6 separate regions of the Homo sapiens genome follow, and regions 1, 2, 3, 4 and 5 are each linked to region 6. The links are contacts of gene promoters, found by promoter capture Hi-C in blood cells and fetal thymus (Javierre and others, 2016). All regions are on one chromosome and are shown on one strand. The core of a region is centred on a gene start or on the middle of the fragment in contact, and the rest is flanking DNA. Distances in the headings are between cores, read along the strand shown.

Region 1 (4,397 bases), core at 485-2,984, 220 kb after region 6:
CTTGAACTCCTGGGCTCGAGTAATCCCCCTTCTTGGCTTCCCAAAGTGTTGGGATTACCTGCATGAGCCGCCACACTTGGCTAGTTAGACTCTTGAGGGTCAAAGTGTCCACTCTTCCCCATACAAAGCCATTGGTTCTGGGCTTTCATAATCTGAAAGATTTCTCATTATGAGTGAGTTGCTGGAACCACATAATTCTCAATGGGCCTTGTGAAGAATGGGGGAGGCCCAGAGAAGTCAAACCTGTTCACCTCATCATATATTCATGATCTTGCATATAACTTTTTCACATCTGATTCATTCAGGGTAAAAGAAAGTAAAAGTAACACAACCAAGTCTGAAGTTGGTGTTGGTGGCCTGGCATCTACCACAAGGCTTTTGAAATACTACACTAATAAGTACAATACATTTATTTTTAAAAATCTATTTATTTATCAAAACAGTATTGGCACAGTAATTCTCATATTATCATCAAATAATAAAATTGCTACTTTCTGTACTCAATTCTTTAGAATCCTAGAAATTGCAAATGCATTCAATTTAACAATATTGTAAATAACAATACAAAAGAAAGAACTCTGCATATTTATGGAAACATTGTTGATGGTACAGTTCTACTGAAACTCATACACATTTCACTATTTAATTTACATATGGTCTTGTTGAAAAAAACCAGTATGTTTTACTTTTTCAATTTCCTTATGCTAAAATACATGTAATTCTAAAGGATATCTCTTAGGTGTTATAAAAACCAAGGAAGGTCCACCACCAAGTCAAAGTTAGAGTCAAAGATACTTCAAAGATTCCATGAAATGATCTGAAAACAAATTTAACCAAAAAATGTGTACTGTATTGGGGCACATCCATGGCCACCCAAACTGTATTCTATCTCTGACTGTGGCATCAAAGAAAGGTATATGGAATTATAATTGACCTTCATGATATTGCTCCAAAGTGGATTGACTAACACTTTCCCCTCTTGACCCAACATCCCAAGTCTTCCTTAATAATGCAAACATCAGTCATTTACATATTGTTTTGAGTCTTTCTAAAACTTATCTGTATTTTTATACTGTCTCATATATAGGATCACAAATTAAGTTTACTATCTGTATGTAGAGTGATCTTTTCTTTCTTTATTCCAAACTACCTTATTCAAATAATTAAGAGAAGCATTTAGCAGGGCATTTCAGAGAGCAAGAAGCGCCCTTAAAAGAAGGAGGTGGGGGGTTTCCTTAAAATATGAAGAAATGCTAAAGCTGGGTTATAAAATATGGTGCTGCATCTAAATATTTACATTCAATTATCATTTAACCGAAAATACACAATACAATCTAATTCTGCAAATTTCAAAAGATTTATTAAAAATGCAATAGTGTATGAATTATATTCCTTTCTTGTGTCTCTGTGAGGGCAGATTCGACTTCATTTGGAATGATCTCAAAAATCTACCCTTGAGGTACTTCATGAATGTAAGGCTTAAACCAAATGGTATGAATTATATTCCTTTTCCTTTTGTATCTCTGTGAGGGCAGATTTATTCATTTGACCATTCATTCATTTGACCAGAGACCATTCATTTGGAATGCTCTCAAAAATCTACCCTTGAGGTTCTTCATGAATGTAAGGCTTAACCCAAAAGGCCTTCCTGGCCTTCTTGATAAACCCTGACACCTAGTTTCTAATAATCTGAGATTTGGTGGCAAAGTCTCTGGTTTCCTGATCCTTGCCTTTCATAGTTTGTATATTTTATGCATTGGCTAATTTTCCTTGGACGTAAAACTGGTTGGGCAAACTATAGAATACTAAGCAAGGTTAAAAAAATTAAAGAAGCAAAATAGTGGCATAGCGTGAAGCAATGGAGAAAGTCACTTGAGGCTAAATAATTACAGCTGTATCTATATATCTATGTCTGTATCTCCACATATATCCATTATTCAGGAAGTTTACTTTTAAATAGGATACTGAACTGGCCTTCCCCCACCACTCCATCATCATGCATCTTTTGGCTGGATACGATAGCTGAGAGCAGGCAGCTGCACTGCCTGATTTCTTGAGACTTCTTGTTGGTTAGACAAAATATCCACAGCTCTTGACTTGAGCTTCACTGGTGTTACCCTGTTTGACTTCATGCAGGCAGTCATGTCTGATGTACCTTTTCTTTTCTTTTCTTTTTCTTTTTCTTTTTTTTTTTTTTTTTTTTTTTGAGACAGAGTCTCGCTCAGTCACCCAGGCTGGAATGCAGTGGTGCAATCTCGGCTCACTGCAAGCTCCACCTCCCGGGTTTATGCCATTTTCCTGCTGCAGCCTGCCGAGTAGCTGGGACTACAGGCACCTGCCACCATGCCCGGCTAATTTTTTGTATTTTTAGCGGAGACGGGGTCTCACCGTGTTAGCCAGGATGGTCTCCATCTCCTGACCTCGTGATCCGCCCTTCTCAGCCTCCCAAAGTGCTGGGATTACAGGCGTGAGCCACCGCGCCCAGCCTACTTTTTCTATTGACCATTTAAGTATTAACCATTAGCCAAGTCCTCAGAGTCGGAAGATTCTTCTCCAGCCATTTTATATTTTTGGTTATCGTTTCCAGAACAGTTTGAAAAATATCCAGATGTGATCCTTGAGCCTCAAGAGATTCAAAAAATAGTTTCACCTGTAAAATATTGAAGAAAAAAATTACTAACACTTTGTCTTGGCCGAGTGTGGTGGTTCACACCTGTAATCCCAGCACTTCGGGAGGCCAAGGTGGGCAGATCAATTGAGCTCAGGAGTTCAATACGAGCCTAGGCAACATGCCAGAACCCCTGACTCTACAAAAAATAACAACAACAACAACAAAAATTAGTCGGACATGATGGTGCATGCCTGTAGTCCCAGCTACTTGGAAGGCTGAGGCGGGAGGATTGCTTGAACCCAGCAGGTGGAGGTTACAATGAGCCAAGATGGTGCCACTGCACTCCAGCCTGGCTGACAGAGCGAGGCAGTTTCAAAAATAAAGAAACAATAAAACCACTTCGTCTTCCAAAAATTTTCAAAAGAGCTTGCAAATTACATACACACAGGTATAGGCATTTCTCTGCCAACCTCTAAAAGGTTATTTTCTACTTTTCTGCATAATTGTTCACTTTATTTTCAAACAATAGGTAAAGTAAGACAAAAATTATAAATCCTCATCTTACAAGTGACCACAATGTGGCTAAAGAAGTTAAATGATTTACCCAAGTCATAGAGTAAATGGTGAGCTGGGATTTAAGTTCAGGAATTCTGAATTTGCCTAAAGGGTAAATAAATTCAAGATTTATTGTGAAAAGAAGGTGCAAAGACTATAATGCTTTAAAAAAAAAAAAAAGATAGGCTGGTGGCTCACGCCTGTAATCCCAGCACTTCGGGAGGCCAAAGTGGGTGGATCACGAGGTCAGGAGATCGAGACCACCCTGGCTAACACAGTGAAACCCCATCTCTACTAAAAAAAAATACAAAAAAATTAGGTGGGCATGGTGGCAGCCTCCTGTAGTCCCAGCTACTCGGGAGGCTGAGGCAGGAGAATGGCGTGAACCTGGGAGGCGGAGCTTGCAGTGAGCCGAGATCGCAAGCCACTGCACTCCAGCCTGGGCAACAGAGCAAGACTCCGCCTCAAAAAAAAAAAAAAAAAAAAAAAGATAACTAGAATTACCAACAATAGTTTTGTTAAAAAGATCATTAAGTACGCTTCCAAACTTTAATATAATCACTCTTGCATCGTAATACAATATGAAAGAAATAATACAAAAGGGCTCACCTCTCAAGTCTATTTTCATTTTGAATGCTATGAATACACGTATTTTAAGTATTTTAAGAGTCAGGGGCTTTTTTTTGCTGTTGTTTTTTGTTTTTGTTTTTGTTTTTTGTTTTTTTGAGATGGAGTCTCACTCTGTCACCCAGGCTGGAGTGCAGTGGTGTGATCTCAGCTCACTGCAACCTCCGCCTCCTGGGTCCAAGTGATTCTTCTGCCTCAGCCTCCCAAGTAGCTGGGACTACAGGTGCGTGCCACCACATTCTGCTAATTTTTGTATTTTTATTAGAGACAGGGTTTCACCATATTGGCCAGGCTGGTCTCGAACTCCTGACCCCATGATCTACCTGCCTTGGCCTCCCAAAGTGGTGGGATTACAGGTGTGAGCCACTGTGCCTGGCCAAGTGTCAGGTTTTAATCCTGTCCCTTCCATTTACTTGCTATATGGCATTGGACAAACAACTTTTTTAAAAACTAAAATGAGAACTTCAAATCAGATTATATCTAAGTTTACTTTCAATTCCACAATTTGAACATTTATTTTGAAATTGTTAAAAACAGAAAGTCACAAACCTCTTGCAACTTATCCTTGGAAGAAAAGTGAGCTGTTGTGCCAGAGATGATCATC
Region 2 (4,349 bases), core at 943-3,442, 200 kb after region 6:
CAGCTACTCAGGAGGCTGAGGCACAAGAATTGCTTGAACCTGGGCGGCGGAGTTTGCAGTGAGCTGAGATTGCACCACTGCACTCCAGTCTGGGTGACAGAATGAGACTCTGTCTCAAAAAAAAAAAAAAAAAAAAAAAAAAGCAAAAATAAGAAAAACAAAAAAGAAAATCTTTGAATCCACCTATGAACTGGAATAGAAGTCCCCGCTTTGAGTTATCCCCTTTCCAGACTGAGCCAATGTACACTTTACATGTATTGATTGTTGTCTGCCTATAACTTCTGTCTCCCTAAAATGTATAACATCAAGCTGTAACCCAACCATGTTGGGCACATGTTCTCAGGACTTCTTGAGACTGTGCTTTGGGCCTTGGTCACACATTATTTATCTCAGAATAAGCCTCTTTAAAGATTTTACAGTTTGACTCTTTTCATTGACAATGAAATGTTTCATTGACAATGTAATGATGTTTCATTGATGAATATACTAACAACTGTTTTAAATTTGACAAAATAACAGTTTCAGCTGTGAGAAATACTATGGCTTAAGCCTCCTTCCTTACCAGAAATTTTCTCTATGGCACTGAATGACACCTGAGTCAGTTGTCCGGGAAATGCTCCCACATAGCACTGTTCATCACTTGCTGCAAGAGGAAGGGAGCACACCCAACCCATAGAGGCATCCTTTTCTCACTGCACTCCTCATTCTTCTGTTCCCTCAGTTGAAGAAGCCTTCTTTAACTTCCTTCACCCCAGATCATTGGCTGGAGAAGACTCTGAGCCCCACAATCCAGAGAAATTCAGACAACTGATTCAAGTTCTGGTTCAGTGACTACATTTTTGAAATATGTGGAATGCCCAGGAGTACCTTCATTAAGCAATATGTATTAGAAGAAAAAGAATTTCAAAAAGTCTCCTACAATTGAACTTGATCCTCCATTGTTTTTTGAAACTCCCTTGGAAGCTTGAATTTTCCTTATTTGGCAAATGACCTGGTTTCCTCCTCATTTACATGTTAAGGATGGAATTTTAAAAAAATTAATTGGTTCATTGTTCTATCACAAGCACCAGTAGAAAAGTGAAGCAAAGCCAGGCTATAAAGAATAGTAGGCTGGCCACAGGGCCGCACTGGCTCACACCTATAGTACCAGCACTTGGGGAGGTCAAGACAGGCAGAACATTGGAGCCCAGGAGTTCGAGACCAGCCTGGCCAACATGGCAAAACTCCATCTCTACAAAAAATACAAAAATTAGCCAGGCATGGTGGTGTGCACCTGTGGTCCCAGTTACTCGGGAGGCTGAGGCAGGAGAATCGCTTGAGCCTGAGAAGTCAAGGCTGCAGTGCTGTGGCCGTGCCACTGCACTCCAGCCAAGCAAGACCCTGTTCCCGTCCCTCCCAAAAAAAGGAACAGCAAATGACTGCTACCATGGTAGTCCCAAAAGGTAGATAGCTCTCTATAGTTTTCTTTTTTTTTTTTTTAAACAACTGGTAATCATTTATTAAAATAGTTGACTTAAGCATCTGCAATGGTGACTTCAACCTCAACTCCTGGCTCAATAATGATGGAAGTAATCTGCTTAACAATCTCAGAAAGACTGTGGAAGTCAATGAGTCACTTATGGATTCTCATCTGGAAACAATACCATGTCTCAGAACCTTCATAAGAAGTTTTTCTTGTAATGTTTCTCAAAGTCTTGGTAGGCATTCAAACTGGTCCTATCACTTTAGATTCTTTTCCTTTGATCCATTGATCAAGTCGGCACACACCTTCTCCAAGGATTTTACCTTGCAGCTCGTTAGAGTGATTCTTTTTATTTATTTATTTTTTTATTATACTTTAAGTTCTAGGGTACATGTGCACAACGTGCAGGTTTGTTACATATGTATACATGTGCTATGTTGGTGTGCTGCACCAATTAAGTCGTCATTTACACTAGGTATATCTCCTAATGCTATCCCTCCCCCCTCCCCCGACTCCATGACAGGCCCCAGTGTGTGGTGTTCCCCACCCTGTGTCCAAGTGTTCTCGTATTTTTTTTTTTTTTTTTTTGAGATGGAGTCTCGCTCTGTCACCAGGCTGGAATGCAGTGGCACGATCTCGGCTCACTGCAACCTCCGCCTCCTGGGTCCAAGTGATTCTTGTGCCTCAGCCTCCCGAGTAGCTGGGATTTCAGGCACGTGCCAACATACTCAGCTAATTTTTGTATTTTTAGTAGAGACAGGGTTTCACCATGTTGGCCAGGCTGGCCTCAAACTCCTGACCTCAGGTGATCCGCCTGCCTCAGCCTCCCAAAGTGCTGGGAGTATAGGTGTGAGCCACCGCGCTGGGCCTAGAGTGATTCTAATTCAGTGAATTGCCACCTCTGGCTTCATGGGCGTTTTTCTGTATCTCCTGACCAACCTGTTTTTTGGTGAGAGCGAGCGGCGGTGAGTCAGGAGCAAGAGCAGGCTTACCACAGCTCCACACCACGTTGTTTATCAAAGAGCTATATTTTTTCTTTAAATCTAAAACATTCAGACAAGTGAACAGTCCCAACTTACGAGTGACTGAATTTTCTGACTATAAAAAAGACAGTATGCTTAAATTTCTGGCAAATGTTTTCTATCTCTTGGCAAGGCTCCCAAATGCCAATCTTAACTCATTTGTCCCCTGAGCCCCCAATTCCATTAATCCAACCAGACCTACCTACCTGTCCCCTTCCAACCTAGACTCTGTCTTCAACCTCATACAACAGTGTCCTGCTCTCCAACTGAAGCTCATTTCTGAACCAAAGACTTGCAAGGATCAAGGCATGACCATTTTTAAAATCTCTGCCTATCAGCTTCTTCCTTTACCCCCAATCTCCACATTTCTTTCATCTTCATCATTGATTCTCCTCTTCCAATTTTCTCTAAACATCTTTGTAAAATGCAAAGTCCTTCAGGTGCTGCTAGGACAATCACAAATGAATTACAACAATGGATAAGGTTACAAGGGAATCCTGTCCACCCTTCCATGGACACAGAGAACTCTTGATGTTCCATTTACTGTCCAGAAACACCAAGGCAATAAGCAACACTCTCTATAACGGCCATATGTAGATCTAGGTCAAGATCTAGATATAAAAAGAACTGTACCACCACAAGGGCTCCAAAATGTCCCTTCATTCTCAATCCTGGCTTCTTGCAAACTTTCAGAAAAGTTGCTGAAATTTATCTACGGATTCAAATTAAAAAAATAATAATAAATAAATAAATAAAAGACTGTGTCTTTCTGGTTGCTCCAATTATACTATGGAAAGGCCTAGTAGTATCAGCTCAACTCCAGCCCCCTACAGTAGGTTTGCCCAACCCCAAGGCCACAGACCAGTACCAGTCTCTGGCCTGTTAGGAATCAGGCCACACAGCAGGAGTGAGCAGCAGGCAAACAAGTGAAGCTTCATCTCTACAGTCAGTCCCCATCGTTAGCATTACCACCTGAGCTCCACCTCCTGTCAGATCAGTGGTGGCATTAGATTCTCATAGGAGCACGAACCCTATTGTGAACTGCGCATGTGAGGGATCTAGGTTGTGTGCTCCTTTTGAGAATTTAATGCCTGATCTGTCACTGTCTCCCACCACTCCTAGATGGGACTGTCTACTTGCAGGAAAACAAGCTCAGGGCTCCCACTGATTCTACATTATGGTGAGTTGTATAATTATTTCATTGTATATTACAATGCAATAATAATAGAAATAAAGTGCACAATAAATATAATGCACTTGAGTCATCCCCAAACCTTCTCCCCTTTAGAATATATCACAAACTAGAAAGTATACATACATCCCCCCGACTGTGGTCCCTGGTCCCGAAAAGTTTGGGGACTGCTGCCCTACAGTTTTCAAGTCATGAGGTGACTAATTGACAAAACATAGCTGCACTGACCTCACCTCGACTGCCAAGAACCACAGGCCTCATCTAGGTCCATCCCAACATCTGGGGTAATCTTGGCTAAACTCTTTCAAATCTCAATTTCCTAATGTTTTCATAGACAGGGTTAATACTGCTGTTTCCTAATAGGAGTATTACACTAAATTAGTAGACATGCAAACAGTTATGAACAGTTTCTGTACATTTATTTCATAATTAGAATACTGTCTTAGACAAAACTTTATTGCTTTTTTATTTCTTCTGTGTTTCCATATTTCATATTAGCATGACAACAAAACTAGGTTCTTCTATTCATTTCTCTTATTTAGGTAAGCATTATCTGATGACGAGGTTGTGGGTTTTTTTTTTTTAATGTAACTGTGTCTAGCAGAAAATCTACTTGTAAATGGGCATTCAAAAGATAGCTGTATGATTGAATTACTGAGCAGAAAATTACCAC
Region 3 (4,542 bases), core at 477-2,976, 160 kb after region 6:
AGAGAGTGAAGAGGAAGGAAGAAAAGAAGGGGGGAAAATGCCAAGACTGCATACATTTTGGGATACATAAAAAGTGCTGGGGGTTTTATACCAATGAGTATTAAGAACTACAAAAAAGAGATAATTAAAGTGCTATGAAAGATCAGAGAGGGAATGATTAATTCCAGCTGGGGAAAGAAAGAAATGCTTCATGGAGAACGTAGTATTCAGCTGAGTCTTGAAGCAGCAGCAAACCTGACTCTTTTAGATTGGGCTTCTTAGGCTTTATCAAGGCTGCAAACTCTAAATCAAAGGCTAAATATGTAGTGCAACACCTGAAGTGGAATTAATTGAATTATTTCAGATTTAAGCCAGTTATAATATCCTTTTGAAAGGATTCTGAAAAATCCTTGACATAAAGTCTTTCAATCCAAAGGTGAGTGAACCATTATTTAGCGCTTAATATTACAGTCTACACTTACCATTAAAAACTTAGTTTACTTTTTGAGTAGCATCATTAAAGGCATACAGTATTATTACTGATAAATCACCAGAGAATCCTTATCTCTGTCCTTATCTCTGAAAGGTATGGGATAGACGTGATAGTCTTTTCTAATAGGAAACATATACCCTTTTGAAGTAGCAAAATGATAAGATCCAAGTATCCTGTGATTAATATAAAGCTCTTTAGTCTAGAAAGGAAACCCAAAACTAGCAGTATATTCCCTGGTAGAGCTCAAAAATACGAAAACAGAAACTAAGACATTCTATCATATTTCTATCATCAAGAATAATTGTTTTTAGTTTAATAAATATGATAGAATGCCTTTTCTCCTTCTATGTTGTCAGTATTTGAAAAAATTAACTTTATTAGGTTTCTACTATGAAATCAAAGTATAAAGTCCAATCAAATAATCATTTACAAACAGGTACAAATGATAAAGAAAAACAGAAGAGTCTAATTTTGGCAAAATACAGATAAACCAGACCCTTAACTAAATAGACAATCTTATTCATTAGGAAGAGGAATCTCATCAGGATTTGCTTTGAAAAAAGGGAGGACTCATCTAATTTTTACAACCTAGAGCTATCGAATATGTAGCCACTAGTCACATGAACACTGCTGAACACTTGAAATATGGTTAGTGAGACTGAGGAAGTGAATTTTAAATTGTATTTAATTTTTATTTATTTAAATCTAAATATTCCCCCTAAGGCTAGTGGCTACCACTCAGTTCTAAAAGCTTTAGTATACATATAGTGTCTTACTAAAATTCTCTTTAAAAGTAAAATTTTTTAAAACTTGAAAATTATTGACTTTCAGCTATTAAACTAGTAACAGTAAATAACAGCTAAGCAAAAAAGTAGCATTTCTGGTATAAAATGTCAGAGTGTGATCTAAAAGCTTATTTATTTCACACAGCAAATACCAGGAATCGTTAAAGCAAGAGGTCCTCTGAGCCTCTTGTGACACAGGCTTTCAGACAATTACCACATCAACATACCAGGGTTCCATTTACGTCCTGACTCAGGTTCTTCATCTCTCCCACAATGAAAGCAACCAAGTAAGTGCTCATCTTCACACTCTCAGAAAACTCATCCTGAACAAGTCCATCATCTAGAACGACTGATGACTTCTACAAGCAAAGGGGAAAAGACAGTTCTGTAACTATAGGAATAAATGGCAATAACAAACAAACTGAGAAACTGAAAATTCAAATAGGAAATAAATGGTAAAGATGCTAGCATATTATAACCTCTCAGTATGAATTTCTGCAAAGAGCATGGCTCCTAGTCTCAGTCTGTTGTACCATCCTTCATCCTGAGGACATATGGAGCACAGTGAAACTCCTCAAGGAGTTTTTAGTCCCAAAGATGACCAAATAAATGTTAAGTTAAAGATAGTCACATTGGTTCTGCTTCTCCCATTAGAACACCTCCAAAACCAAAATCCTTCCTTATGACCTGGGATTGCTCCACTCTACTGCTACAAATACATCCACAGAAGGAGCTCTAGCTGCGACATCCCTTCAAATGATCTGAAATGGCTTCATGGGGTGCCATGTTGAGGACCCCCAAGAAAGCTTAGTGGGAACAAAGTCAGTAGTAAGTCATTAGAGAAGTCTGCAGCAGACACAAAATGAGGGAATGTAGGCAACCTTATAGAATTTTCCAACCACAAATTAAAGTAGGCATCTGCCTCTTTAGAGAAAGATGAAGGTGAAGAGTATGGCTGAGTGTGCAGAGTAAGCTGGTACAGTGCTGTCTTGTTACAGATTATGCTCTCTGCTGCCTACAGGATTGGCTCCATAGCCTGCTGGGTATGGCTGCTGCTCCTCTCCCTTAGCCACATGGGTCCAGGAGGCTCCTATCAAGCTGCACAGTCCCTCAGGTGTCTAAGACCAAAAAAAAAAAAACAAAAAAAGACCCCCTAGGCTCCAGGTTTTGTTTGGCATAAAAACAATTATTGGTTTCACCCTCACTGCATCCCACACAGAGCTAACATCTAAGAAAGAGGCTCCTGTTCTAGTTGTCAATCTCCATATTATAACAATATTGGTTTTTCATTTACCAATAAAACACCAAAAAGAGTTATTATTCAACACTCTCAAATAACAGTTTAGAATAGCAAATTCATCCTGTCTCAGAAAATATTACTCTAATCTTTTGCTAGTTCATTGTATTAATATTTGCACAACTTAATATACAATGCACACTCACATTTCCTATCCACACATTCCAAGTCCAGCAGGTCTTTCTCTTTCCTCAAGTCCTCCTCAAGGTGACTTCCCAACTGATGCCAATATATTTTAATTTTTATTTAAGTATTTTAAGGAAGAATATTAATGTATATGATTTTAATCATTCTCAACTGTAGTCTGGCAAAGAGGAATTTAAGTGTTCTTAAAGAAAGAGACCCATTCAAAGATTTTTACATTCAAGGAACAGAACAGTACCTTAGGCATATTTGATAAAGCGGTGTATTGCTCATCCCTTATGATCTTGATGATAAAAGTGGCTTTAAATGCTGGTTCATCAAAACAAGGAAAAGCAGATCTTGCTGCCAGGGGTTCAAACTGAGTTGCTGCAAAGTACCTAAAACAAACACAAATTCAATCCAGTAGTTACTGAGCACCTACTGTACAAGGCACCCTGCCAAGTATACTAAGATAAATATGTTACAATCCTAGTTACTAAAGGATCTGCAATAAACTGGGAAAGGCAGAGGTTTATACAATGAACAGAAACTTACATCAGGCTGTAAGTCATGTCCTAACAATGAAAATAAAGCAATGGGAACAAAGGGAAGGAAACAAATTCTGACTAGAGGTTGAAGATATTATAAGGAAACATGCAGAAAACCTGAAGAGGGCCTAAAAAGATGAGTATTTGAAAAGGTGAAGAAGGGAAGAAAGTATACTCTGGAAAGAGTGGGTAACACAAGTGTGGCAAGCCAGATCTCACTAACGCAGGCCTCCATAACAACTGTTTCAGTACTGGCTGAGTGGTTAAGTTAAATATTAAAAGCCAGTGCCCTTATACAAAGGCTGGAATTTAACAAAAGCCCACCAAGAGTTTTGCCTGGGTCTTAAAGCATGACAAAATAATGAAGGAATTTTTAACAGGACCCATTTAGGATTAAATAAGTTTTATTGGAGGGTCTGAAGAAACTCCCCAGGCCTCCACAAACAATTACTGGAGGTCTGAAGGAACTCCCCAAACCTCCGTGATTTAGCAGGAGACAACATAAGGGTAATCACCCCAGCACCTGGACCCATTTAGATTAAGTAAATTTACTGAGGCTCAAGAGGAAGGTCTTCAAGACTCGGACCTTAGTTATGGATTAAAAGAAGTTAATCACTTATGTCTTTAGAGAAATGCACACTTACACGTAAACATATAGTTTAGAAGGTATATAAGCTCTGGAAAACTTTGTAATTTTGAGTTGTTCTGGCAATAATTTCCAGGCCTTCTCCCTATATAACTGGTTATAGAAATAAAAAGTCTCTTCCCAGTTCATCTGCATCTCGTTTTGGGGCAGCAAAAAATAGCAGCCTGACCCTCAGTTTGGTCCGGGAACACAAGAGAGCAGTGCATGTGCAGAAACTGGGGGTGGCTGTCCAGTGTGGCTGGAGATGAAGCCACAAAGGTAGGCTGCAACTGGCCACTGAGGTCTTAAAAAGGTTTCTGATGGAAGATTATTAAGAAGGGTGGTCATTAATTGCTGCGAATTATCTGTACAGACTCTGGCTTCACGATACCAAACCTCAAATTCACAGCTTGCATTTTCATGAAGATTGAAAAAATTAGGTGTCCTGTAGTATTCTGGTTTCCTTTACTCGCCTCAGAGATTAAAAAAAATTTCCTCCTCTTTCTGTAGCACACCAACAACAGTTGAGAATATGACACAGAAAAATCCTCAATTACAGTCCAGGCCAGGTGGCTCACGCCTGAAATCCCAGCACTTTGGGAGGCCAAGGTGGGCGGATCACTTGAGATCAGGAGTTTGAGACCAGCCTGGCCAACATGGTGAAACCTCATCTCTACTTAAAAATATAAAAA
Region 4 (4,411 bases), core at 479-2,978, 240 kb after region 6:
ATCTTATGAAAAATAACAGCAACTAATTCTTCTCATTCTCAAGTTGCTATTGACATGTATTAGAATTGACTTTATGTGACACAATGGTGGGCAAGATATTTTCAGTAATTTATTATTTTAATACTACAGGGCCCTTTGGTGTCAGAAGAGAGTTGGTCAAAATCTAGGACCTTTAGGGGAAGATTGATGGGGGACTTTTCTTAAAACTAGGAACTAGCTGTGATATAATTGAATAACTATTGGACTTAGAAGACAAATTTTAAGTACTGATTTTCTCACTGACTTGGTGACTTTGGGCAAATCTGTCCCTTAGTATCAGTTTTCTCACTTATAAACACAGAGTAATGATGATTACTTTATCTTTTGAGATGATTATAAGCATGATGTGACAAAAAATAACACAGGAATTTACACTGCTGGCCTAAAATGATCTGGTAATTGCTGGCCAAATTTTCTTTTTAACTCCCACCCTCTACTGCCAGTATGCACACCAAATGATAGATTCTTCCGTGTTGGAGGGGAGCTAAACTGATGTCTACAAATATACATACATGCACACACACATGGCAAGGGAGAGGGAAATGGAGAGGGATGAGAGACAGAAGCAACACAATACTTGGTGCTGAGAAGCTTAAGCGGAAGCATGGAGAAAGTGTGTCTGGACCACTGACGGTGGGTGATGGAAATGGATAGTAAAGAGCATCTTTATATGTTTTTTGTTTGTTTGTTTGTTTTGTTTTGTTTTAAGACAGAGTCTCACTCTGTCACCAGGCTGGAGTCCAGTGGTGTGATCTCAGCTCATTGCAACTCCGCCTCCTGGATTCAAGTGATTCTCCTGCCTCAACCTCCCGAGTAGCTGGGATTACAGGTGATCCACCAGACCTGGCTAATTTTTTTTTTTTTTTTTTTTGTATTTTAGTAGAGATGGGTTTTCACCATGTTGGCCAGACTGACCTCAGGCAATTTGCCCACCTCGGTCTCCCAAAGTGATGGGATTACAAGCATGAGCCACCGCACCAGGCCTATAAGTATTTTTGTAAGTAAAAACTATGTATTTGAATATGTCTCAGGATTTTCAAGAAATGCAAGTAAAAAATAGGAGCTGTGAAATAATTTTTGATTGTTGGATTTTGTTTCTTTAACCACAAAATCACACATCAGTTGGACCATAAGTGTGCTTTATAAGGGCACAAAAATATCAAATGAGATAATCAACATGAAAGTGCTTTTTATTCTTTAACTTTGATTTTTTATTTATTATTAATTATTGTTATTATTATTATTATTGAGACAGAGTCTCACTCTGTCACCCAGGCTGGAGTGCAGTGGTGCAATCTCGGCTCACTGCAACCTCCAGCTCCTGGGTTCAAGTGATTCTCCTGCCTTAGCCTCACGAATAGCTGGGATTACAGGCAAGCACCACCATGCCAAGCTAATGTTTGTATTTCTAGTACAGACGGGGTTCCACGAATTGGCCAGGCTGGTCTCAAACTCCTGACCTGAAGTGATCTACCCACCTTGGTGTCCCAAAGTCTTGGGATTACAGGCGTGAGCCATTGTACCCGGCCATGAAAGTGTCTTTAAACTGTAAACTGCTGCAGAAATATTAAACAATATTATTACTGTCCCTGGGACACAAGTGCTTGTAAAAAAGAAAGGATCTCTTCTGTCTACAATGACTTAGGGTTCTTCTAATTACAGGTATGAGTTCTCTGGGTCTAATGGTTCTATAAAAAATTATTTTCTTTGCAGTTGGAAATTTTAAAATATTTTAATAATTATTAGAATCATCTGAATTAACTGAATTTTTCTGCTTTGCCTTTCCTATTATCTACATGAATCCCAAAGACAGACCATAAGTTCTTTAATCAATCATTAACTGCTTATTAATCACTATTATAAGATCAACATATGCTAGGTGCTATCACATTAAAAAAAGAATAGACACAATTTTTGTTCTTAAGCACATTATCATTATTGAACTAATAAAAACAATAAAAGAGGGTACTATTATGTGGAACAGATTATAAGTGCACTGCTAAGAATTTAGCAGACAGGCAAACGAATGAGGGCTGGAACAGTCTGTAAGGAGGAGGTGAAATCTCAGCTGGATCTTAAAAGTTGGGTGGCATTTGAATTGTTGGAAAGAAGAAAGGGCATTTCAGCTAGTAAAGGCACTAGAAATATAGGCACAATGATCTAGAGATTGAGCAAGATTTCTTCTTATAAGAGAGAAGATTAGTTTTGCTCAACAAATATATACACATTGGGGAATACAGTTGACAACCTTAAAATTTGCCAGAGATTAGGTGTTATATGGTAGAAATTACAACATTTTAAAGATTTTAGATCAAGGGAACATAAAAGTGTAGGATTAGTCGTAGAAGAGAAACCAAAGAAAGTCAGGTCAAATAGTGAGCCCCTGGGGCCACCCCAGCGTGACATCCTAGTGTGGTGTTAGAGGAAAAAGGGAAGTGCTGCCTTCTATAGACCATGACAACATAGCAAGCAGAATAAATATGGTTGACTGACAATATATAGCTATTTATAAACATTCACAATTATTCTGTTACTTTCTAGATTAAATAACAGTCTATCGTTACCCAACATATGACTTACATTTGACAGACTGCTCCACAAGTCATCATTCTTAGCATTTCTATAGCTGAACTTCTTTAAGTACTGAATTATTCCTTTCTGGAATTTCTCCTCACCCAGAAAATCCTTGAGCATATTCAAAATACAAGCTCCCTTTAAAAAAAAACAAAAGAGTTGAAAAAAGAGATAAAGAAAATGGTAGTATGGTATGTTTTTAAAGGAAGCTTAAATTTTACGGAACATGTGTGATGTCTGAAAAGTGAACAAATAAAAAGTGAAACAAGTAGCAGGAACTGGCACCAGTGACTTAAACTGCTGATTCTATAGTCATTATTACACTTCTGAAAGCAGAGCTTCCACCTGCACCTGATATTTACTACCTTGTTATAGGAAACTTCATCAAACATTTCCTGTATTTGAGTCGGGGTTTCCGCTGGTTTGGAGATAGGGCGGGATGAATTCAATGAATCTTTTGTAATTACTTCAAAACACACATTCAAAAAATAGTCATCCTAAACAGGGAGAAAAATGTTTAGTTTTAGTTTCTATTTGACACTGTAAAAGCAATAGAAAACATAGTAGGTTTAGTAAGATGTTCTTAGAGGTAAGATTTCAATCGATATTTCTTGGGAGATGTTTCTTTTCTTGTATGTATTCCCCTTTGGCCAAAGGGGAATACATCTTTTTAAAGTTTCTCTACTTTAAAAAGATACAAATCCAATATTCCTTCAGACATTGCCTGAATGTTTATCATGTACCAGCCCTTGAATACAGAAATAAAATAATGGTTTCCATTTAGTGAATACTTGTTACGTGCCTAGACCTATCATCTGCAATCCTGTCAACACCTCTGCAAGGGAGATATGGTATATGCATTTTACAAATAAGAATATATAAAGCTTTGGCATTAAGCCACAAATTCAGTACATACACAGTAACAAGAAGAGCCTAACTTTGAATCCATGTCTGTCTATAGTGTACTGGACTAAATATATATCCCAAAGACCTAATTAACCATTACTAACCACCTTGATATGCAAATTTGTGTAGTGTTCAGACCACTATATTCGTTTTTAAAAAAGACGTACCTGAAGAAATCCCTTCACACATTTTGGGGAAGCCAGCAGACCCTTTGGAAATTCTAGAAAAGTACACCCCCAATGATGTTGATTTCAGGTTACATGCCGAGAACTCTCTATAGTACCTAGTAGCCATGAGCATTCCTGTGCAGATGTATACAAACAGTGATGTTCTTTCCTCTCAACCCACATACACAGTTCTACATTTGTATTAGTTTGCCTTCTCTCTTTACAGACTTTGGGGTGACAGATTTATGTTGATTGTTTTCTAAAACCTTCAATGTTTCATCCAGTTCTGTGATCTGTTTCGTGTATCAAACAAAATGCCATATGTTCAAAAACCACAACATTATGTAGTTTTTCTGTTTAACATTCACTTGAAATTTTAATAGTGAATTGATGATTCTTTACACCATATAGTATGATACACAGAATTGTGAACTTACAAATTGCAGCTCTGGATATGTAGCATTAACAGCGATAAGTTCCATGTATTTTGCAAAACCCTCCTTAAGCCAAATATCATTCCACCATTCCATTGTGACCAGGTTGCCAAACCACTAGGAGGTAAAAACTCAATATTATTAGAAGTTAAACAAATAAAAATTATTAACTTTAGCAAAAAATACAATAGTTACTAACTTTTTTTTTATTAGTTAGGATCTCTCTTCTCTCTTTGCTACCCTTTTCTCTCTGTACAATTTTCTTCTACTGATTTCCTTGCCTTCTTATTC
Region 5 (4,182 bases), core at 1,113-3,612, 170 kb after region 6:
TAGTGGCAGGTCAACCCAGCCAGAGCAAAGAGAACTCATAACACCCTAGGCATCAGCTTGAAACACTAGAAAGGCCTCAGTGTAGAAGTAAAGGTGACACCCTAGAATAAGACCTACTCTAGATCCATAGTAACAAAGCCTAAAACCAAGCCCTAATAAAATCCACAGGGGAAAAAGTATTTAAGGATGAGTCTCACTAAGTTAGAGGAGCCTGATAAACACCTTAGGCTTTCCACAGATCTGCCTTAAAAATAAGCCTACACAAGGTGATCAGCCAGTAACTAAGCTGTCTACAGAGACAGAGAGAGAAAAATCAACATTTTACAGAGTTTTTTTTAATTCAGCATCTCTACCATGTGCCATTGACACTATTCAATATGTAATAAAAAATTACTAGACATTTAATGAAACAAGAAAATGTGAACCCTAAGTAAACAAAATCATTAGAAAGCAATCTTAAGGTGGTCCAGATATTGCATTGTATTTAGTGAGTCTTTAGAGTAGCCATTATAAATAAAAAAGAATCCCTGAAGAAGACGTGTTTTATTATTTTTCAATTGTATCCCCATCATTAAGCAGGAAGATGTATTTTAAAAAGGAAAAAATGAGAATATGTGAATAGATGAGACTCTCCGTGGGGAAATCAAGACTAAAAAAGAACTAAATGAGAGGGAAAAAAGAAAAATCTAGGAGAAAAAGGTTCAATAAATAAAATGAAAAAGTTACTAAATGGACTTAATGGCAGATTGGAGACAGCAAAAGAAAGAGTCCATAAACTTGACAGATCATTAGAAATTACCAATTTGAAGAACAATGAGACAAAGGATTGAAGAAAAATAAACACAGCATCAGGGATCTGGGGGACAGTATCAGACAGTCTAACATGTATCTAACAGGAGCCACAGAAGGAGTGTGAGAATGCAGCAGAAGAAAATATCTGAAGAAATAATAGTTAAAATATTATTAAGTTTGATGAAAAACACCACTTACCAGATCCAAAATGTTCAGCAAACCCCCAAAAAGATAAATACACACACACACACACACACACACACACACACACACACAAATAATAATGTCTTAAGCACATCATGGTCAAAACTGCTTAAAACTAAAGATAAAAAGAAAACCTTTAAGAGAACCTGGAAACAATGCTACATACAGATGAACAACAGTACATACACTAACTTCTCATGTCAACGGTGGAGGCCTGAAGATGATAGAGCATTTTTAAAGAGTTGGAAGACAAAGAAAATTCTAAACTCAACTTTGCACATACAGTGAAAATATGCTTCAAAATCAAGAGTAAAAGACATTTTCAAATAAATGACAGCTTACAGAATTCATTTAGAACACATTTTCCTCAAGTAGATGTATACTACAAGAAATTTTAAAGGAGGTTCTTCAGGATGAAGGGAACTACTACCAGACGGAAACTCAGATCTTCAGGAAGGAGAGAATACCAGAAATAATACATGTTAAAATAAAAGGTGTACATTCTTTATTCTTCTTATAATTTCCTTAAAAGACTATCTTTAAAAACTGTATGCTTAAAACCAAAAAATAAAAGACAACAAAAGCACAGAGAATACAGAAGTTGAGTAAGAGAAATTAAGCAGAAAGGAAGAAGGGTCAGGTATAGAATGTGAAATGGTACAATACTGACTATACACAGACTTAATGATGCATATTATTAATCCTAGAAGAAACACTGAAAAAGTGATTTTAAAAAGATGCATAGTTAAGAATCCAATAGAGAAAATAAAATGAAATACTAAAATTGCCCACTTAATCCAAAAAAAATGAATAAAGGAGAAACAGATAAACAAAAACAAAAGGAACAAATGAAAACAGTGGCAACATGGTAGACTTAAACCTGACCTATGCATTAACTGTAAATGGATTAAACATTGTAACAGAGACTGTCACAATGGGGACAAAACAGCAAGAAACAACTATATACACTGTCTGTAAGAGATGCATTTTAAATTTAGACACAAATAGATTAACAAAGAAGAATATTTTATGATGATAAAAGGAGAAATTCAGCAGGATATCAATCTTAAATATGTATACCTAATAACAGTGTTTCAAAAAGAAGTTTTTTATGAAGAATAGAACAAACAAAAACATCCACAACCATATCCTTTCTCTTCATAACTGATAGAACAAGTAGACAACAAATAAGTAAGGTCACGGAAGATCGGAACAATACTATTAACTAATTTGACCTGACATTCACAGAATATAAAATCAAACAACTGCAGAAATACATATGAAACATTCACCAAGATGGAATAAAGCAAAATAAAATAAAATAAATCACAATCAACTTCAAAAGACTGAAATATGCTTTTTAGAGACTTTGTTCTCTAAACACAATGGAAACAATTAAAAAATCAATTAGTAAATTAGGTAAACAATCCCTAGATATTTGGAAAATAAAAACAAAAGACTTTAAGTAATCCATAAGTCAAAGAAGAAACCACAAGGAATATATAAAATATTTGAAATAAATAATAATAAAAACATAATATATCAAAATTCAAGAAAATTTATTGCTTTAAATGCCTATATTGGGAAAAGGTTTAAAAATAACGACATTTCCACCCTAAGAACCTAGAAAAGAATACCAAATTAAACCTAAGTAGAAAAAATAATAAAAAAAAAACAGGGCAAAAATCAACAAAATAGAAACCAGATAAACAACTGAAAAATAATGCAAAAAATGCTGCTAGAGGGCAGGAAAGTAGTGTGGACGGCTCTAACTCATATTCTCCTAGAAACTGGCCCAAAAATCCACACATACCATTGTCCTGGTGCATCTCCAAAACCAATTTTTCACTTCTCAAAAGTCTAGTTAGGTAATTTAAAGGGACAAATCAGAACTGGGTCACAGGCTAGAGACAGAGATCTTTTAACAAGCCCAGCCGTCTTACATCTGTCCCTCTTTCAAGACTATCTGGCAAACACAAAATTATTTAGCCAGTAATAATACCAGTTATGCCCAAATTTAGAAAAATACAGTATGTTCTCCCTCTCCTTTCAAGTAAAAAGCTAGGGAAATTTTCTTTGTAAATCCAAATATTTAAAATGAACTACAGAACTGCTATTTAAAGGAAACTTCTTATGAGCTCATCAAAAGTTAAAAAAAAAAAAAGCAAGCATTCTTAAGCAAAAAACTACTTAACATTCATTTTTGTATTTGGATTTCTGTATTTCTTTCTTAAAAAGGGAAACTCCTTTTAAGTGTCCACTTAAATTTTAACTGAGTTTTTCTGGATAGGAAAAAAAGCCCTCATTTTGAAGTATCTGATTTAAAATTCTTACTTCATTTGAGGTAATCACAATTCTGAGGCTCATTTTGCATAAATATAACCATTCTGCAGTTGTTCAGGTCACAGCTATGTGAAACAAATCTCCACAGCTAGGATCTTTGTTCTAAATCTAAGAGACCCAGTGGCCCTGTATATAAACAAACTAAATTGGTCCTCAGCTCTCAGCCATGCTTCCACAAATCCCTAAAGCACATACAACCACGCACAGTGCCTGCTCTGCCTCTGAACAGCATGTGAGACCATACACATGTTACAAACATCTTGGTTTCTCTCAAGCATGCATGGCAGCTATAGCCACTTCACTTTGTCCCCTTATCCCATCCTCTTCTCTGCAGCCCATAGGCTTTTTTTCTCCCTCTTTATTTATTATACCGGTCCAATGTAATCTTTTCAAATTCCTAGTTTCTTTCACCTTTAAAAAAACCAATCCAACTATTATTGGAACAAATGTCTTACTCTGACCAATTTTCCTACTCTCCCTAAAAGAGTACGCCATACATAGTAAGATGTACAAATGTTCTCTTAAGACAAAAAGGTTATAAGAACTGCAATAAAGAAATCCTTAAATGGGCCCTGAAAAAAATAACCCAGAAGACTTCCACAAATATTATTATATTCACTTTCCCCCCAGGGTAAGTCCCTGGACAATCAAAGAAAAACAACTTGATTTATAGTAAACGACACTATCTAATAATCATTCTAAAAGTAATCCTGCCAACTTGGGGGATTATCCAGTACAGGCTTGCTTCTTGGTAGCCACTGTACATAGAGTTTTGTTTATAATTAGACTGTGTAGTGTTAATTATGCTGGTTGCCCTGCCAGTATCCTACAGAGGCTACAGGA
Region 6 (4,180 bases), core at 1,269-3,768:
CACGTGTGGTGTGAGGGACCTGATGGGAGGTAATTGAATCAGGGGGGTGATTACCCCCATGCTGTTCTCATGATAGTGAGTAAGTTCTCATGAGATCTGATGGTTTTATAAGGAGTTTTGCCTCTTTGCTTGGCACTTCTTCTTCCTGCTGCCATGTGAAGAAGGATGTGTTTGTCTCCCCTTCCACCATAATTGTAAGTTTCCTGAGGCCTCCCCAGCCATGCTGAACTGTGTGTCAATTAAGCCTCTTTCCTTTATAAATTACCCAGTCTTGGGTATGTCTTTATTAGCAGCATGAACTAATACAGTGAGTATAATAGGAATTATTATTCTAGTTCGGTTCCATCTATTTCCTTTTATGAAGCCTGCTCTTCTACAAACTAGCTGAAGAAGCTGATCACATGGAAGGTATTTCATTTTTATACAGTCTTTAAAGGTCTACTTTCAGTTCATCATAAAATACAACCTAGTTATGGAATCTGAAAATTGGAAGAAACACTGGAAAGCAATCTTTGTGGCTACCCTGGAAAAATATTTTAAATAAAAGTTTGACAATCCTCAACAACCTCCTTCAACAAGTAACATTGGTTACAACCACTAAAATTAGTTATTTTATATCTGGTATAAATCCTTATTATGGAAAAGGAATCCTGTGACTTATATTTATGTCTTCTATGGAAAGATTATTTAACAAAGTGTTACAGGTAGTATAGATCATGAATAGGTAGAAAAAGAATTTCTGTTTTCTTAAGATCTTTAAAGGCCAGGCATGGTGGCTCATGCCTGTAATTCTAGCACTTTGGTAGGCCGAGATGGGTGGATCACTTGAGGCCAGGAGTTTGAGACCACCCTGGGCAACATGGTGAAACCCCCTCTCTACTAAAAATACACAAATTAGCCAGGTGCGGTGGCGTGGGCCTGTGGTCCCAGCTACTAGAAAGCCTAAGGTGGGAGGACCGTTTGAGACTGAGAAGTCAAGGCTGCAGTGAGCCCGGATCATGCCATTGCACTCCAGCCTGCATGACAAAGTGAGACTCTGTCTCAAAAAAAAAAAAAAAAAAGGATACAGCTAGGGACTAAATTAAGCCTTGCATTTGAATTCAGGAGCCACTCTTCTGGAAGCCAAGGCTTGTTACCCCCCACAACCCTCCCAAATTTTAGTCACTTCTATTGGGCAGGGGCAAGTAAAACCTGACAGACTGTCTTACAGCTTGCCTGGGAACATTTGTTTCCCTATTTACCCTTCAAAGTGAATCATTCCCAAGGTTGACTTTAATTAATTCTGATGTAATTCACTTCCTTTCACTTAATAATTATTAAAAATTTCAGGGCAGGGTGCAGTGGCTCACGCCTGTAATCGCAGCACTTTGGGGGCCCAGACAGGATGATTGCTTGAGCCCAGGAGTTTGAGACCAGCCTGGGCAACACAGTGAGACCCCATCTCTACAGAAAATTTAAAAATTAGCCAGGCGTGGTGGCGTGTGCCTCCCAACTACTTGGGGTGCTGAGATGGGAAGATTGCTTGAGTCCAGGGCTCAAGCCCCTCACTTGAGTCAAGGCTGCGGTGAGTTATGATCACGCCACTGCACTCCAGCCTGGAGGACAGTATGAGACCCTATTAAAAAGAAAAATAAAACAAAGAAACAGGACGAGAAAATACATATATGTTTCTTAAGGTAGTTATTGAAAGATTTTTTTAAAAAATTGAGACAGGGTCTTACTTTGTCACCAAGGCTGGAGTGCAGTGGCACAATCTGGGCTCACTGCAGCCTCGACTTTCCAGGCTCAAACCATCCTCCTGCCTTAGCCCTCCAAGTAGCTGGGATCACAGGCATGCACCACCACACCCAGCTAATTTTTGTATTTTTTGTAGAGTTAGGGTTTCGCCATGTTGCCCAGGCTGGTCTGGAACTCTTGGGCTCAAGCGATCTGCCCGCCTCAGCCTCCCAAAGTGCTGGAATTACAGGCATGATAAACTGCACCCAGCCCCATAATCTTTATAGCACTCCTTTACCAAAGAAGAATTACACTGAAAATTTAGATTTATAGGGATTATACTGTTAACATATAGCTGGCAGTCCTGAGCTGGAAGCTGTCTTGTCATTCAGGAAATTTCCTGGAGAAATAACCTTCCTGATTCCATATTCCTGGGGGCAACACAATTGAAGATGGAGGGCCAGAAGAAATACTCAAGTCAGAAAGCTGCACAGCATTCAGACAAAATCTGGTTGGAGAGGAAAGCTGTTTTCATAATTTAGCGAGCTTCCCCAGCTAGCCTGTAGGTGGGTGTGTTTAACAGAAGAAAGCAATGGGAACCCGCCTGTCAGCCAGCCTTTCGAGCTAATTAGCTCAGCATACAACAAAGATAAGTGAGCCTGGGAAGAGGGCCCCCTGAGGGGTCTTTAGATTCTGGGAAATGTCTGATTGGCAGATGTTAAAAGGGATTCCTTGGTAATCCAGTGCATCAATGAGCTGCAGAAATTCAGCCCAGGACTGCAAGAATTCAGGCATGAGGACACTCTGTACAGGAGGCTCACACAGGCAGACCCAAGATGGACAGAACCTTGGAATCTCTGAGACACATCATTGCCCAAGTCTTGCCTCACAGAGATCCGGCTCTAGTCTTCAAAGACTGTAAGTACTGAAGGGGGAAAAGTTTTTTGACTTTTTAGAAAATAGTCCTAAACGTCAAGTCACATCCTATTTAAGTAAGATTTCTCCTAAATCTCTGCAGTCGTATGCTGTGTTCTAAGTGATATTTTAACTTGTTCCTGACTTCAGCCAGAAGAACGATTTCATTTCACCTACAGGCATTAGGCACTGGGTTATTCTGTCAGTGATACATCTTGCTAACTACTTAGAAGTCTCTTCTACAATCCAAGACCTGCCTAAGACTTAATGAACTTTTTCTGATGCTTTTTAAGTAAAGCAAAGCTGACTGGTGTTGAGATTAAACCTAAAAATAATTTGGAAATGATACTAGAATATATCAATATTTGTTAACCTGTTTAATACTCCACAACACATATTAGCTATGTTAATTCAAGTATCGTGTTTGTCTGAAAATATTTGTTGCAAACCAGAATTAACAGTAAATCACCACTGAACTTTTAAATTTTGATAACAGATTATAATGCTTTAGTTAAAAGGCCAATAAAATGAGATGCCTCCTAACCTCAGCAACACTCCCTGTGTGGACCCCCTACCACCATCACCAATTTATACAGCATGGCAAAGTTATTTCAAAATCTTTTTTTTAATGATTTAAAAATAATTCAATCAAGATTTCCAATTCTAGCAATACTATTAAACCATTTGTCATATAACTTCGTTTCTGGAACCAATTTGATTTCCTGCTGCTGCAAAACAGACTATCTTCATGTTGTATCTTATCTACAGTGGGTTTCATATTACAAAGGGCTTCTGAAATAGAACTGCCCAAAAGGTAAAATGCATATGGAATTTTTTTTAACTTCAATAGGTTGCAGCTTTCCTCTTTGTGAATCTAGTTGTGTTTGTCTCCATCAAAACATCAATGGTTTGAATTTTTGCTTTCTGATTGCTGAATAACGTTCCATTCCAGATGTCCTCTTAGCTTAGATTTCTCATATGTATGTTGAAGAAAGAGGAATGTTAGGCCATTTAATTCTATAAATTTTTCCTCTTAGATGTTAAATTGTAACCAATCTGTCCTTTAAGGCATAAAGTGAAAGCCTTTTCTTTCTCTAGCTCTCTTTTTAAATATTGTCTTTAGGCATTTGCCAATAACTATGTTAGATCTAATAAAAATCACTCTCTCCACTACTCTAGCCTGGAGTCTATTCAGGTTTGTTATGTTTTTTAAGCGAAAAGGGGAGGAAAGAATGTCTCTCTCCTACAATAGAACTGATTCACTAGTGAGGGATAAAAGGGCTCTCGGGCTGCCCAAGCTTTGGATAAATTGTATAGGACCAGGGTTCTTATGCTGAGCATTTAAATAGGGGAAGCAGTTAAAAAAAAAATAGGGGGGACGTTTTTCACTGGCCCATTGAAAACTTAATAAGTTCAAATGTGAAACTGTATAGCTCATTTTTTAGCTGAACTAAATTGCTGCGATTGTTTACAGTTTAGAAAAGAAGATAGACTAGAAAAAGGATTACAATAAAGCATACATTAAGTTCTGTCATCCAGGACTTTGCAG

The links. The method cuts DNA at HindIII sites, captures the fragments that hold promoters and counts their contacts. A CHiCAGO score of 5 or more calls a contact.
Region 1: a fragment that was not itself captured here is called in contact with the fragment with the promoter of LIX1 in region 6 in 1 of 17 cell types (M2 macrophages); the score reaches 5.2 in M2 macrophages.
Region 2: a contact is called between a fragment that was not itself captured here and the fragment with the promoter of LIX1 in region 6, in 2 of 17 cell types (M1 macrophages and monocytes). The highest score is 6.8, in M1 macrophages.
Region 3: a fragment that was not itself captured here is called in contact with the fragment with the promoter of LIX1 in region 6 in 6 of 17 cell types (M1 macrophages, M0 macrophages, M2 macrophages and 3 more); the score reaches 12.8 in M1 macrophages.
Region 4: a contact is called between a fragment that was not itself captured here and the fragment with the promoter of LIX1 in region 6, in 3 of 17 cell types (fetal thymus, erythroblasts and M2 macrophages). The highest score is 6.1, in fetal thymus.
Region 5: a fragment that was not itself captured here is called in contact with the fragment with the promoter of LIX1 in region 6 in 2 of 17 cell types (M1 macrophages and M2 macrophages); the score reaches 5.9 in M1 macrophages.

Annotation. Positions count from the first base shown.
Region 1 is chr5:96,915,715-96,920,111 of GRCh38, reverse strand. ERAP2 (endoplasmic reticulum aminopeptidase 2) reads right to left here. Exons shown (of 19, transcript NM_022350.5): 18 at 4,343-4,397; 19 at 409-2,650. The coding sequence ends at 2,507. It also overlaps a transcript of ERAP1 not described here. Among named protein-coding and RNA genes, the nearest start is that of LNPEP, 18 kb to the left of the region's middle. RefSeq lists an enhancer at 1-2. The HindIII fragment of the contact is 5,592 bases long and covers 1-4,397 here.
Region 2 is chr5:96,940,354-96,944,702 of GRCh38, reverse strand. All of the region lies in intron 1 of LNPEP (leucyl and cystinyl aminopeptidase), which reads right to left. It also overlaps the pseudogene RPS20P16. Among named protein-coding and RNA genes, the nearest start is that of LNPEP, 6.4 kb to the right of the region's middle. The HindIII fragment of the contact is 2,453 bases long and covers 966-3,418 here.
Region 3 is chr5:96,983,613-96,988,154 of GRCh38, reverse strand. LNPEP (leucyl and cystinyl aminopeptidase) reads right to left here. Exons shown (of 18, transcript NM_005575.3): 3 at 2,937-3,075; 4 at 1,485-1,616. Among named protein-coding and RNA genes, the nearest start is that of LNPEP, 50 kb to the right of the region's middle. The HindIII fragment of the contact is 679 bases long and covers 1,387-2,065 here.
Region 4 is chr5:96,895,072-96,899,482 of GRCh38, reverse strand. It overlaps ERAP2 (endoplasmic reticulum aminopeptidase 2), which reads right to left. Exons shown (of 19, transcript NM_022350.5): 7 at 4,124-4,237; 8 at 2,979-3,110; 9 at 2,620-2,751. It also overlaps a transcript of ERAP1 not described here. Among named protein-coding and RNA genes, the nearest start is that of ERAP2, 21 kb to the right of the region's middle. RefSeq lists an enhancer at 2,298-2,357. The HindIII fragment of the contact is 2,192 bases long and covers 633-2,824 here.
Region 5 is chr5:96,968,232-96,972,413 of GRCh38, reverse strand. The region is part of intron 1 of LNPEP (leucyl and cystinyl aminopeptidase); the gene reads right to left. Among named protein-coding and RNA genes, the nearest start is that of LNPEP, 34 kb to the right of the region's middle. The HindIII fragment of the contact is 6,549 bases long and covers 1-4,182 here.
Region 6 is chr5:97,140,949-97,145,128 of GRCh38, reverse strand. LIX1 (limb and CNS expressed 1) reads left to right here and starts at 2,518. Exons shown (of 6, transcript NM_153234.5): 1 at 2,518-2,634. The coding sequence starts at 2,553. RefSeq lists an enhancer at 2,502-2,571. The HindIII fragment of the contact is 8,667 bases long and covers 1-3,931 here.